4 separate regions of the Homo sapiens genome follow, and all the other regions are linked to region 4. Evidence: promoter capture Hi-C in 16 types of primary human blood cells and fetal thymus (Javierre and others, 2016). All regions are on one chromosome and are shown on one strand. The core of a region is centred on a gene start or on the middle of the fragment in contact, and the rest is flanking DNA. Distances in the headings are between cores, read along the strand shown.

The links. The method cuts DNA at HindIII sites, captures the fragments that hold promoters and counts their contacts. A CHiCAGO score of 5 or more calls a contact.
Region 1: a fragment that was not itself captured here is called in contact with the fragment with the promoter of ERCC6L in region 4 in 1 of 17 cell types (M2 macrophages); the score reaches 5.1 in M2 macrophages.
Region 2: the fragment with the promoter of PHKA1 here is called in contact with the fragment with the promoter of ERCC6L in region 4 in 2 of 17 cell types (megakaryocytes and M0 macrophages); the score reaches 9.6 in megakaryocytes.
Region 3: a contact is called between a fragment that was not itself captured here and the fragment with the promoter of ERCC6L in region 4, in 4 of 17 cell types (megakaryocytes, monocytes, fetal thymus and 1 more). The highest score is 6.8, in megakaryocytes.

Annotation. Positions count from the first base shown.
Region 1 is chrX:72,519,176-72,522,229 of GRCh38, reverse strand. All of the region lies in intron 4 of HDAC8 (histone deacetylase 8), which reads left to right. Among named protein-coding and RNA genes, the nearest start is that of HDAC8, 52 kb to the left of the region's middle. The HindIII fragment of the contact is 6,275 bases long and covers 1-3,054 here.
Region 2 is chrX:72,712,903-72,715,654 of GRCh38, reverse strand. It overlaps PHKA1 (phosphorylase kinase regulatory subunit alpha 1), which reads left to right and starts at 1,349. Exons shown (of 32, transcript NM_002637.4): 1 at 1,349-1,852; 2 at 2,718-2,752. The coding sequence starts at 1,775. RefSeq lists enhancers at 72-1,060, 1,061-2,045 and a silencer at 1,219-1,368. The HindIII fragment of the contact is 1,799 bases long and covers 740-2,538 here.
Region 3 is chrX:72,577,388-72,580,269 of GRCh38, reverse strand. PHKA1 (phosphorylase kinase regulatory subunit alpha 1) reads left to right here. Exons shown (of 32, transcript NM_002637.4): 32 at 1-1,456. Among named protein-coding and RNA genes, the nearest start is that of HDAC8, 6.0 kb to the right of the region's middle. The HindIII fragment of the contact is 3,710 bases long and covers 1-2,882 here.
Region 4 is chrX:72,237,761-72,240,831 of GRCh38, reverse strand. It overlaps ERCC6L (ERCC excision repair 6 like, spindle assembly checkpoint helicase), which reads left to right and starts at 1,805. Exons shown (of 2, transcript NM_017669.4): 1 at 1,805-1,988. The coding sequence starts at 1,921. It also overlaps a transcript of PIN4 not described here. RefSeq lists an enhancer at 1,874-2,023. The HindIII fragment of the contact is 5,695 bases long and covers 358-3,071 here.

The sequences.
Region 1 (3,054 bases), core at 350-2,849, 280 kb before region 4:
TCTTGAAACAACCCTTCCTTCGTGTTGGTGTTATTATCATTACCACTGTATATATGGAGAACCTGAGGTTCAGAGAGGTTTAGTGGCTTACCCCAGGTGTCAGAGAGTGAGCCACATTTGTGTGTGCCTGTTGGGTTTCACCCACTGGGTAAGCCCTGAAAATAGGGAGACGGATAAAATGTGGCCACTAGCACAAATGCCTCAATCCTTCTCGAACCTGAGTCTCCCTCTTCTATAATTTTAAGTTCTTTTTCTGCTTGTTCTGGGAAGGCCGTGGCAAGCCATGAACCTGGGTATGGATTATTTGTCTCTGATTGGATGAGAAGAGAAGCTAGCCCAGCATGAGAGCGCAAGTGGTTATTAGCAACAATGAAGTTGAGTATGTTGAGGACCGAGAATGGGTCTGTTGGATTTGGCAATCAAAGATTACTGCCATATTTACAGTGGTGTAAAAAGAACAGGCTGAGGAGCAAATGAACAATAAGGAAATAAAGGCAGGGGAGAGAGAGACAGAGACAGATAGAGAGAAAAGAAGAATTATAGTAAATATGGGTAATTTTAAAAGCACTTGTTTTTAGTGCTCAAATTATCCCAAATTTGGCCTTTGAGCTGGCTCCTATGTGTTTGTGACATGACCCCATCAGTTTTTCAGCACCTTTAATTTCTGGTGAACAAGGTTTCCCTGGTTTTCTGAACTATCCCTGCTCCAGCCCTGGAATCAGCCGTTTCTCTCAGAAATCCTGGTTCCTTTTAGTAGGGAATGGCATTTCAGTACCAAAATCTAGGTACTGGGTATGCTCATTGCCACTGGCATGCATTGCTTGCCTTTTCTGTAGACCAACCTAAGAAATATATAATTTTTAAAGAAATTATGAAAAGATTGAAGGAAATGGATTATAGCATAGTCTATAGTGCTACTCCAAAGACAGCGAGAGAGAGGGGGAAAAAGGGAGAAAGACCTACTTTAGAGCAGAACAGCAGCTAATAAATGTAGAAGGTAGACTAAAAAAAAAATCACTGTTTTGCAGCCCCCCAGTACAATAATTGATTTTGGCAAAGATCATCAGATGGATGCTAAAACCTTTGAGCAGAAAGGTCCTTGAGAACAGGATATTCACACAGTTTCAAATTATCACCCCACAGATTCCTTGCTAATTACAAAGAGGAAAATGCACATTTACAATAGGAAAATCTGGCAGTCACCAGGTTAAACAAGTTATTAAACTCAGCATTGTCAGTAGCAGGACAAGCTGACATCGTGCTTTCTGATGTGATCTCAGATGAAGTACAAAGCATCATTTATGAAATATTCTTGCCAGAAATGTTTATGAAGAAACAATTAGATGAACCTAGAGTGTGGGATATCCAACAAGTGAACTAGCCTGGACTCTTCAGAAAGCCATTATCATGAAAAACAAAAGAAGGTGGAGGAATTGTTCTGGATTTTAGAAAACAATGAACTCAAATACAATGTGTCAACCTTGAATGGATTCTGAATTGGAGAGAAATCTTAAACAATTATTAAAGACATTTTTGGAATGATTTGGGAAATTTACAGACTATATTAGATGATATTCTTGAATTGATGTTGATTTTCTTAGGCATGATAATGTAGAAGTCTTTTTCTTAGGAGATGCATGATGAAGTGTTTAGGAGTGAAATGTCATCATATTTGTAGCTTACTTTCAAATGGCTCAGCAAAAAGTGTGTGTGAGAGAGAGACAGAAATGTGGAAAATTATGACAATTGGTGAATCTAGGCAAAAAGGTATATGATTGCTTGTCATACTATTCTTTCAACTCTTCCATAAGTTTGAAATTTTTCAAAATAAAAAGTTGGAAAAAACAGTTCTTTTAAAGCCTATGAAATGTATGATGAGTTTCAGCAAATGATGCTGGGACAATTGGATATGCAGATGCAAAATGATGAAATTAGACCATTACCTCAATACCATAAACAAAAATTAACTCAAAATGGAAAAGAGACCTAAATGTAAGAGGTAAAACTAAAAAAACTTTTAGAAAAACAAACATAGGAGATTTTTGAGACGCTGGTTAGGCAAAGATTTAATACATATAACAACAAAAGCATGGTCCATAAAACAAACATTTGATAAATTGAACTTCATCAAAATTTAAAACTTGCCCTTCAAAAGACAATCTTTGAAAATTAAAAGACAAGCTACAGACTAGGAAAAAATGTTTGCAAATTTCATATATGATAAAAGTCTTGTATCCAGAATATACTGTTACAATTGAATAATAGACAGACAACCCAATTTAAAAATGGGCAAAATATTTTAATAAATACTTTGTCAAAGAAAATATATGGGCCAGGTGCAGCTGCTCACTGAAGCCTGGCCTGTATATTCCGGCACTTTGGGAGGCTGAGGCAGATGGATTACTTGAGCTCAGGAGTTCAAGACCAGCTTGGGCAACGTGGTGAAACCCCATCTCTACAAAAAATACAAAACTTAGCTGGGTGTGGTGGCACATTCCTGTAGTCCCAGCTACTTGAGGGGCTAAGGCAGGAGGATCACTTGAGCCCGGGAGGTTGAGGCTGCAGTAAGCCATGTTCGTGCCACTACACTACAGCCTGGGTGACAAAGTGAGACCCTATCTCAAAAAAAGAAAATTTATAAATGGCCTAATAGGCAAATGAGAAGATGCTCAGTATCATTAATCAGTAGGAAATCACAAATGAAAACTACCATGAGATACCATTACTCATCCACTAGAATAGCTGTAATCAAAAAGATAGACAATAAGTGTTGGCAAGGATGTTGAGAAATAGGAACCCTCATACATTGCTGGTGGGAATGTAGAATGGTACGGCTACTTTGGAAAACAATCTGACAGTTTCTTAAGAAGTTAAACATAAATTTATCATATATCCCAGCAGTTCCACTCCTAGGTATCTACCCAGTGAAAACATACCTCTGCACAAAGACTTGCACATAAATGTTCATAGCAGCTCTATTCATTATAGCCAAAAAGTGGAACAACCCAAATGACCATCAACTAGTGGATGTATAAACAAAATGTGAGATATCCA
Region 2 (2,752 bases), core at 100-2,599, 480 kb before region 4:
AAGGCACTGGGGTCCAAGCCGGGCCGCCCCAAGGGTTGCAGACTGATTCCACGAGGCCAGTAAGCAGCGTTATCTGCAAGCTGCTGCCTTTTTTTTTTCTTTTTTTGAAACGGAGTTTCGCTCTTGTCTCCCAGGCTGGAGTGCAGTGACGCGATCTTGGCTCACTGCAACCTCCACTTCCAGGGTTCAAGCGATTATCCTGCCTCAGCTTCCCGAGTAGCTGGGACTACAGGAGCGCCCCACCACGCCCGGCTAATTTTTGTATTTGTATCGGCGGCGGGGGAAGCGGGGGGGGGGGTTTCCTCCATGTTGGCCAGGCTGGTCTTGAACTCCTGACCTCAAGTGATCCGCCCACTTCAGGCTCCCAAAGTGCTGGGATTACAGGCGTGAGCCACCGCACCCGGCCACTACAAGCTGCTTTTATTATTTTATTTTTATTTTATTTTTTTTGAGACGGAGTCTTACTCTGTCGCCTGGGCTAGAGTGCAGTGGCACGATCTTGGCTCACTGCAACCTCTGCCTCCTGGGTTCAAGCGATTTTCCCGCCTCAGCCTCCCGAGTAGCTGGGATTACAGGCGCGCGCCACCATGCCGGGCTAATTTTGTATTTTTAGTAGAGATGGGGTTCCGCCATGTTGGCCAGGCTGGTCTCGGACTCTTGACTTCAGGTGATCTGCCCTCCTCAGCCTCCCAAAGTGCTGGGATTACAGGAGTGAGCCACCGCGCCCGGCCTCCAAGCTTCTTACGCAGCCTTCCTTCTCCACTTTATTTTCAGCTGAATATTTGTTGCCTCAGCCTTGTGACCTACGTGCGCACGAGGGAGCCATCCAAAGCAGTTATAGGATCTCTTCCAGCTCGAGTCCTGCCAACGCCGCCTTCTGGGGCTGCCAGCTCCCAGCTGTTCCCCGCACTGGCTTCCTCAGAGTGCACCACTGCCTCCTCCCTCCCAAGCCCGCAGACTCGCCAGTTACTAAGGAGTAAAGTACCCTAGGGAGTTCCTGTTTGGTTGGTCTGGCTGGAAGTGAGGCGTGTAATCTGAGCTTTTAAAGTCAAAATCTAAAATACAATAAAGACCCAGAAATCCAAGTCTTCAGACCTGGAACACAAGCGTGTCTTTCAGTTTTGAAGTTCACTGTAGGTTCCTTTATAAAACTAGTCCTGTAGAACGAAGGAGAGCCTCCCCAACATCCTGTGTGCACAGCAAGTGTGGAAAACTGAAATAGTGATCTGAGGTGTTTCGAAAATAAACCTCGGAAAGCACATTGCCTACGGTGACACATTCTCGGCCCCGGGGCGGGCGAGCCCCGGGGTCGCAGCGCGCAGCTGCCAGAACCAGTCGCGCCCGCCCCGCCTCCCGCTCGCGTCTCCCGCAAGGTGGAGGCGGCGCAGCGGTCGTTGACCTGTTGGCGGCGGCCGGGCGGGAGGCTGTGGGCCGCGGCGGTCTCCCGGGGTTGAGGGGAGGATGCAGGAGTCACACGCGGAGGCCGGACTGGACTAAGGGGGCAGGAGCGGCGCCTGGGGCGCTGCGGCGGGGCTCTAGACCGCGGGAAGCCAGTGCTAGCGCTGGCGCGTGGTGGGCCCCTGAGGCCGCCGGAGTCCGGAGAGGTACGCGGAATCCGCGGCGCCAGGCCTGAGCGGTGGGAGGGCTCTGCGGGGCCTGGTGTTCAGGCGTCCCACCACGAGGGTGGAGCAGCGTTGGATACTTGTTCCTTAGGGACCGAAGGCTCCGGTGGCACCCGGGCTATTTCTCAGAGGACAATTAGTAACGTGTCGCCATGAGGAGCCGGAGTAACTCCGGGGTCCGGCTGGACGGCTACGCTCGACTGGTGCAACAGACCATCCTGTGCCATCAGGTAACTGCAGGGGTGTCTCTCGTAATCACCGAGCGAGGATGTAGCTTGTCATAGCTTGGACGGAGACCTTGGATGAACTCCGTGCGTGCGTGCGTGTGTGGGTGTGTGTGTGTGTGTGTGTGTGTGTGTGTGACGGAGACCTTGCATGAACTCCGCGTGTGTGTTTGTGTGTGTATCTGTATCTGTCTGTAGCAGGTTCTCCCGCCCCTGTTAATTATATATTTTTTCTGCTGGTTTTTCATTGCTAGTTCGCTAGTTCATTCTAACTAGAAAGGTAAAACTTTCTTTTAATAATACCCATTATAAATGCACTTAATAATACCTTTAATTGTGCCTTTAATAATACCCACATTTCAGACTCGAAAGGCTTCAGCCACCGCTTACCCCTTATTCAAGATAGTATTTGCAAAGGGCACAAAGTTTCAGTTATAAGATGAGTAAGTTCTGGGGATCTGATGTACAGCAGCATGGTGACTGTAGTTAATCATACTGTACTGTATACTTGAAATTTACTAAGAGAGTAGATCTTAAGTATTCTCACCACACCAAAAAAAAAGGTAGCTGTGAGGTAATAGATGTGTTAATAAACGTCATTTTGGTAATTTTCCAATGAATACATAAATCATCATGTTGTACTCCCTAAATATACACAATTTTTAATGTGTTGAATATAGCTCAGTAAAGCTTGGGAAGGTGGGAAGATAGCATTTGCCTGCAATAGGTCAGAAGAAGAGGAGGTTATAAAACTCAAGAGTGGAGAAGTAGAAGAAAGACCAAAGTCCCTAAAAAACCCATTTGGAAGATTCTGTTTCCTGATGTTAACACCTATGGTTACCTTCCTGCCCTCTTTTTCTTGACCTTGCAGAATCCAGTGACTGGCTTGCTTCCAGCCAGCTATGA
Region 3 (2,882 bases), core at 251-2,750, 340 kb before region 4:
TTTTATAAAGATTGTTGGTACTCAGAGTTGTATTTGCAGCAGAAAATGCAGAATAACCCAGAAATGGAGCCCGGAGCCCAATTCCAGAGAGGAAGGGAAAGAAGAGACGATGCCTGGACAATGTCTTATACATAGGGAACAGAGAGGGAATCAGAGGTGGCTTAGTTCCCTGAAGACAGCCTTATGCGCTTAATCCCTGCCTTTGAAAAATGGGCCAATACACAACACAGACAATAATTTGAAGCGTCTGTATTCAGCAAAGATAAATACAGCAGTCCAGTCTATAGGTGCTCTACTTAGCATTCTTTTCATGTGCTCCTGGTCTCTGTCTCACTCACCTACTTTCTACTACATCCAACTCAACTCCCTGACACCCTATCCCCCCATCTATTCTTAAACTCTTTCATATATATTTTCACTTCCTAATTCTAGTGTACATATCCCTGTATATCATGGTATCTGTGGGCATATGTCTGTTTCTTATAAAGACACATATTTGTGTGTGTATGTGTGTGTGTGTGTGTGTGTGTGTATAAGCATACATGGGAATTTTTCTGAATGTAAGCAGTTTTGATGTGTCTGTATATCAATCTGTATCTACATTTGATGGACTGAGTAAGAATGTTGCATGTGAGAGAAGGGATGTGACTGTGGACTCAGATTGACACACACAGATTGGTGGAAGAATAGCTTCAGTCCTCTTCCTTCATCCCATATGTAGGTAGCCTTGCTTGACAAATGTTTCTTCTAACTCTCCTTCTTCTGAATTGTGCAGAGACTCTGTTAACTTCCCTTTTTGCACTTAGATAACTTCCTACTTCAACCCCCTCCTTTATCTTGGATTTCTAAAGTTTTTCCCCAATATTGGGAATGGTGAGGGTGGGGATGAGAGACTCTCTGAACAATTCTTGCAGAACCAGTGACAATCTTATGAATATAATGAATAAGTAAGCATATAGTAGGGTGATAGAATACAGATAGTAGAAACAAAGAGAGGACAGCAAACCTTTTCAGCACTTCTCTCAGAGCAAATGGAAACACACAGTAAGTAGCTTTCTGACTACATTATTTTCTGGTCACTTTTAAAGAAAGTTTACAACCTGTTCTGAAACTATTTGTCTTTTCACTGGTTGTAAGTGTACCCCAATCTCAGGGAGTATATCTGTAGTGCCACAGGCAAAAGATCCACTCCTTCCCACACTCATTTGCCTGAACTTACTCGAAGGGCTGCATTTCTCTGAGTTTACGAAATTGTGTCATTATGGTCCCCATACAGTGGTATTTAACTTTTAAAGCAACTTTTAAGAAAACTCGACTTGTTTTTTGTTCATTTTAAGTGTGTGGTACTAAAAAGACATGTTAGACTTTTTTTAAAAAAGCACTTATGTTTTGAAAATAGAATAAATAATAAGAATTTCCAATTAAATCATGTCTGGTGCCAATGTGCAAAACTTCACATGTGTTTTTGTGATTGGAGTTTATTTCATGGCTTTATTCTACATACTCTGCTTAATTATACAGTACAGTCAAAGCTCATTCATTGGGTTGAAGTAGAATAATATTAATATATTAATACATATATAATATATTATACATTTCATAATATGTTAGATAATATATGTAAAGAAATGCAGTTTAATCATTCAAATACATACCCACTCAAACAAGGCTTACTAAATTCAAGCGGGCTTATTGACATCTGTAGGGAACATTTTCTTTTCTTTTCTTTTCTTTTCTTTTCTTTTCTTTTCTTTTCTTTTCTTTTCTTTTCTTTTCTTTTTTTTTTTTTTTAAGACGGAGTCTTGCTCTATCGCCCAGGCTGGAGTGCAGTGGGGTGATCTCGGCTCACTGCAACCGCTGCCTCCCGGATTCAAGCGATTCTCCTGTCTCAGCCTCCCGAGTAGCTGGGATTACAGGCATGCGCCACCACACCCAGCTAATTTTTTTTGTATTTCTAGTAGAGACGGGGTTTCACCATGTTGGCCAGTCTGGTCTCAAACTCCTGATCTCAGGTGATCCGCCTGCCTCAGCCTCCCAAAGTGCTGGGATTACACTCGTGAGCCACCGCGCCTGGCCTGTAGGGAACATTTTCTGATGAATGAGTAAAACATTTTTACTCAGCCTTTCAATTGTGTACAAATGGTGCTTCTTCCCTAATGAAGGGTATTTTAAAACAACTTGTTTTTCTAAATATTAAAAATATTTGGCAGAATCTTGTTTGTTTATACTATTCATTAGCCTTTTCTATAACAGGATTTATCCAGCAAGGATGAACATTGTCTCTACAGTTCCATCCTGGTTAATGAAATTTTACTACATTCTGGGAATCTTACACAACTGGTGGGGCAAAAGTTGTTCTTCACCACAGCTGGCAAAACCTCTGCCATTCCTTTTTCTACTTACCAAGTACCTAGTGTCTGCACTAATGCAGTGGAGATTATTTTCCACATGTAGTCTTCATTTCCTTTTTATTTATTTAATTTTAAAAAAATACAGCCATCAATTTTTATTCTTATATTTGGTAGACATTCATTTCCTTTTTAACTTGAGTAACCTCAGGTGTTGGTTTGTCCAGGGCAGCCCCCATTTATGCCTGTTTTACTGGCATAATTATCAATAGCACTGTGTCACTCTCAAAAAATGTCTCAGTTTGAAAGATATGGTCACCCTATATTTAGCAGATGTGTGATTTCTTTTAAGGCTAAGCCAAAAAACCAAGAACTTATTCTCAAACCACTAGTAGTACTTGTGCAGTAGTGGTATGGGGGTAAGGATGACAGTAGGGGGAAACTCCCTTCCCCACCAAATATAGAAATATTTGGCATAATGGCTCTTAAATAACCAATATTTGAGCACATACCAAATGCCATTGTTATATAGGC
Region 4 (3,071 bases), core at 556-3,055:
CCCCACCTCCCCCCAACCCTTTTCTTTTTTTTGAGATGGAGTCTTGCTCTGTCGCCCAGGCTGGAGTGCAATGGCACGATCTCAGCTCACTGCAACGTCTGCCTCCTGGGTTCAAGCGATTCTTCCACCCCAGCCTCCCGAGAAGCTGGGATTACAGGCACCCGCCACCATGCCCAGCTAATTTTTGTAGAGACGGGGGTTTCACCATTTGGCCAGGCTGGTCTTGAACTCCTGACCTCAGGTGATCCGCCCGCCTCGGCCTCCCAAAGTGCTGGGATTACAGGTTCAGTGAGCCACTGAACCCGGCCTCCAACATTCCTTTTAACTCATAACGGTCTATAAATTTTATGAAAAGCTTAAAATTCTCTGGACATATGATGTATGACTGGGCCAATAGGTGAGTTTTCCAATACTGAATGCTAAATTAGTGTCTTGAGGAGTCATGTCTGTGTTCTTAACAGTATATGAACAAGGACAATTTTTGTTGGCCCACAACCTCCTATTTAGTGTCACCCAAGCAAGCCACTTAAACTCAATCACATTTCCTTAAGCTCTAGGCTCTGCCTTCTTTTTAGGCTCTGCATTTGAAAATGACTGTATCTTAGTTGGTGCTTCTGAAGAAATGATGACCACAGCACTACTTCTTTTTTTTTAAATTATTTTTGTCTTCCTTTTATTATACCAAGTATGTGAACCTAGTTACTTATTTCTTAAATAAGAACTTTAATTTTTTTTTTTTTTTTGAGATGGAGTCTTTCTCTGTCACCCAGGCTGGAGTGCAGTGGCATGATCTTGGCTCACTGCAGCCTCCACCTCCAGGGTTTGAGATTCTTGAAGACCCTTCTCTCTTTCTCTCTCTCTTTTTAAGAAAATAAATACAGCATAACGCCCTGTGGAGAAGAAAAAAATTTTTTTTAAAGAGACGGGAGTCTCACCATGTTGCCCAGGCTGGTCTCGAACTCCTAAGTGCAAGTGATCCTCCCACCTTAGCCTCCCAAAAGGCTAGGATAACAGGCGTGAGGCACTGCACCCAGCCTTTTTTTTTTTTTTTTTTTTTTTTGAGATGGAGTCTCGCTTTGCCACCCAGGCTGGAGTGCAGTGGTGCAATCCCGGCTCACTGCAACCTCCACCTCCTGGGTCCAAGCGATTCTCGTGCCTCAGCCACCCGAGTAGCTGGGACTGCGGGCGCCCGCCACCACGCCCGGCTAATTTTTTGTATTTTTAGTAGAGACGGGGTGTCACCATTTTAGCCAGGTTGGTCTCGAACTCCTGACCTCACGTGATCCGCCCGCCCCGGTCTCCCAAAGTGCTGGGATTACAGGCGTGAACCACCGCGTCTGGTCGCTTCTTCAATGTTAGTTTAAATCACAGGGACTATGCCTCCCAGGGTGTTTGAATTCAAAGCACGGTCAGTGCCAGGTACTGGCGATCAAGGAAGGGAAGATATCTGTGGATGCGGGGCAGGGTATGGTTGGGGGACGCAGGCGTTGGAGATCTCCAGGGGTCGCCGCAATGACTGGGATCATATCGGGCAGTCTCCTCCACTCACAATGATGGCACACGCACGCGCGAACGAATTGGCTGCAGCATGGTTTGAATTGGATTGAAACGCGAGGGATCACAGACTGAGGCAGCACACTCCGTGTCTCGAAGGCAGAGATCACCTTCTGCTTCCCGGCGCGCGTAGGCGCAGGCGCCCACCGTCATGGGCGGGGCTCAGGCGGAGGCGTCGCAGCGCGTGGTCGCGGATTGGCCGGCCGCGAGGCCGTCGGTTGGCTGTGTCCCTCTCCACGGCGCACAGAGCATGCGCGGGGCGGGAGTGAGCGAAATTCAAGCTCCAAACTCTAAGCTCCAAGCTCCAAGCTCCAAGCTCCAAGCTCCAAACTCCCGCCGGGGTAACTGGAACCCAATCCGAGGGTCATGGAGGCATCCCGAAGGTTTCCGGAAGCCGAGGCCTTGAGCCCAGAGCAGGCTGCTCATTACCTAAGGTATGTCTGGACCGCTGGGCGGGTCTAGCTAACCGACCTGGCCCAGGGTGGAGGTGGGGTGGCCCCCGGATCCTCCTGGGGACCCGAACTGTTGAGGCGGAGCCTTTTGAGACGCGCGCTCGCGCTCTTCTCGCAGTAGGGTGTGGGAGTCAGCTCTGGATGTTTGACCAGATTTCTAAAACCTGAGGAGACCCCGATGCCTCTTCTTTTGGGCAAATGACCCTCCAGTATGGTCTCCTTAAAAGCCAGAGGAGCCTTAATTAATCAAGCCCTTCTTGATTCTTTTCAGCTTATCAAGCCCTAAGTCTAGGGGATACAGAGATGAGTAAAACAAGGTCCCCGCCCCCAAATTGTTTGTAATCTAGTAGTGGAAACGGATCTGTAAAGCAATAATTACTAGGTTTGATAAGTGCTGTAAGAGGTATAATGTACGTGCAGGGCACAGTGTTGGCATAAAAGAGGGAATGGCCAACTACAAGGGTGGTCAGCTAAGGGATGGCGTGGCAAGAGGAGACATTTGAGCTAGGCGTTGAAAAATGAGTAAACATTCACCAGTTGGCTAAGGGTGGGGGGCGTGGTAATGTTGGGATGAGAATTTAAATTTTTTCTTAAATTGTGGTAAAGTACACATAACATAAATTTTATCTTTTTGTGCAGAAACTGGGTTTTATGAAAAATAAAGTTTATCATCCTAACCATTTTTAAATGTACAGTTCAGTAGTGTTGACTACATTCATATTGTTGTGCAGCCGTCCGTCATCTCCAGAACTTTTCTCATGTGGCAAAACTGAAACTACTCCCATTAAACAAACTCCCCATTTCCCCCTCCCTTCAGCCCCTAGCAACCATTATTCTGTCTCTGTGAATTTTACTGCTTTAATTTTTTTTGAGACAGGGTCTTGCTGTGTCGCCCAGACTGGAATTCAGTGGCCTGATCATAGTTCACTGCAGCCTCGAACTCCTGGGCTCAAGCAGTCCTCCTGCCCCAGCCTCCCTAGTAGCTGGGACTTAAGGTGGGTGCCACCATGTCCAGCCAATTTATTATTTTACTATTGTTGTTTTATATATATTTTTAGAGACAGG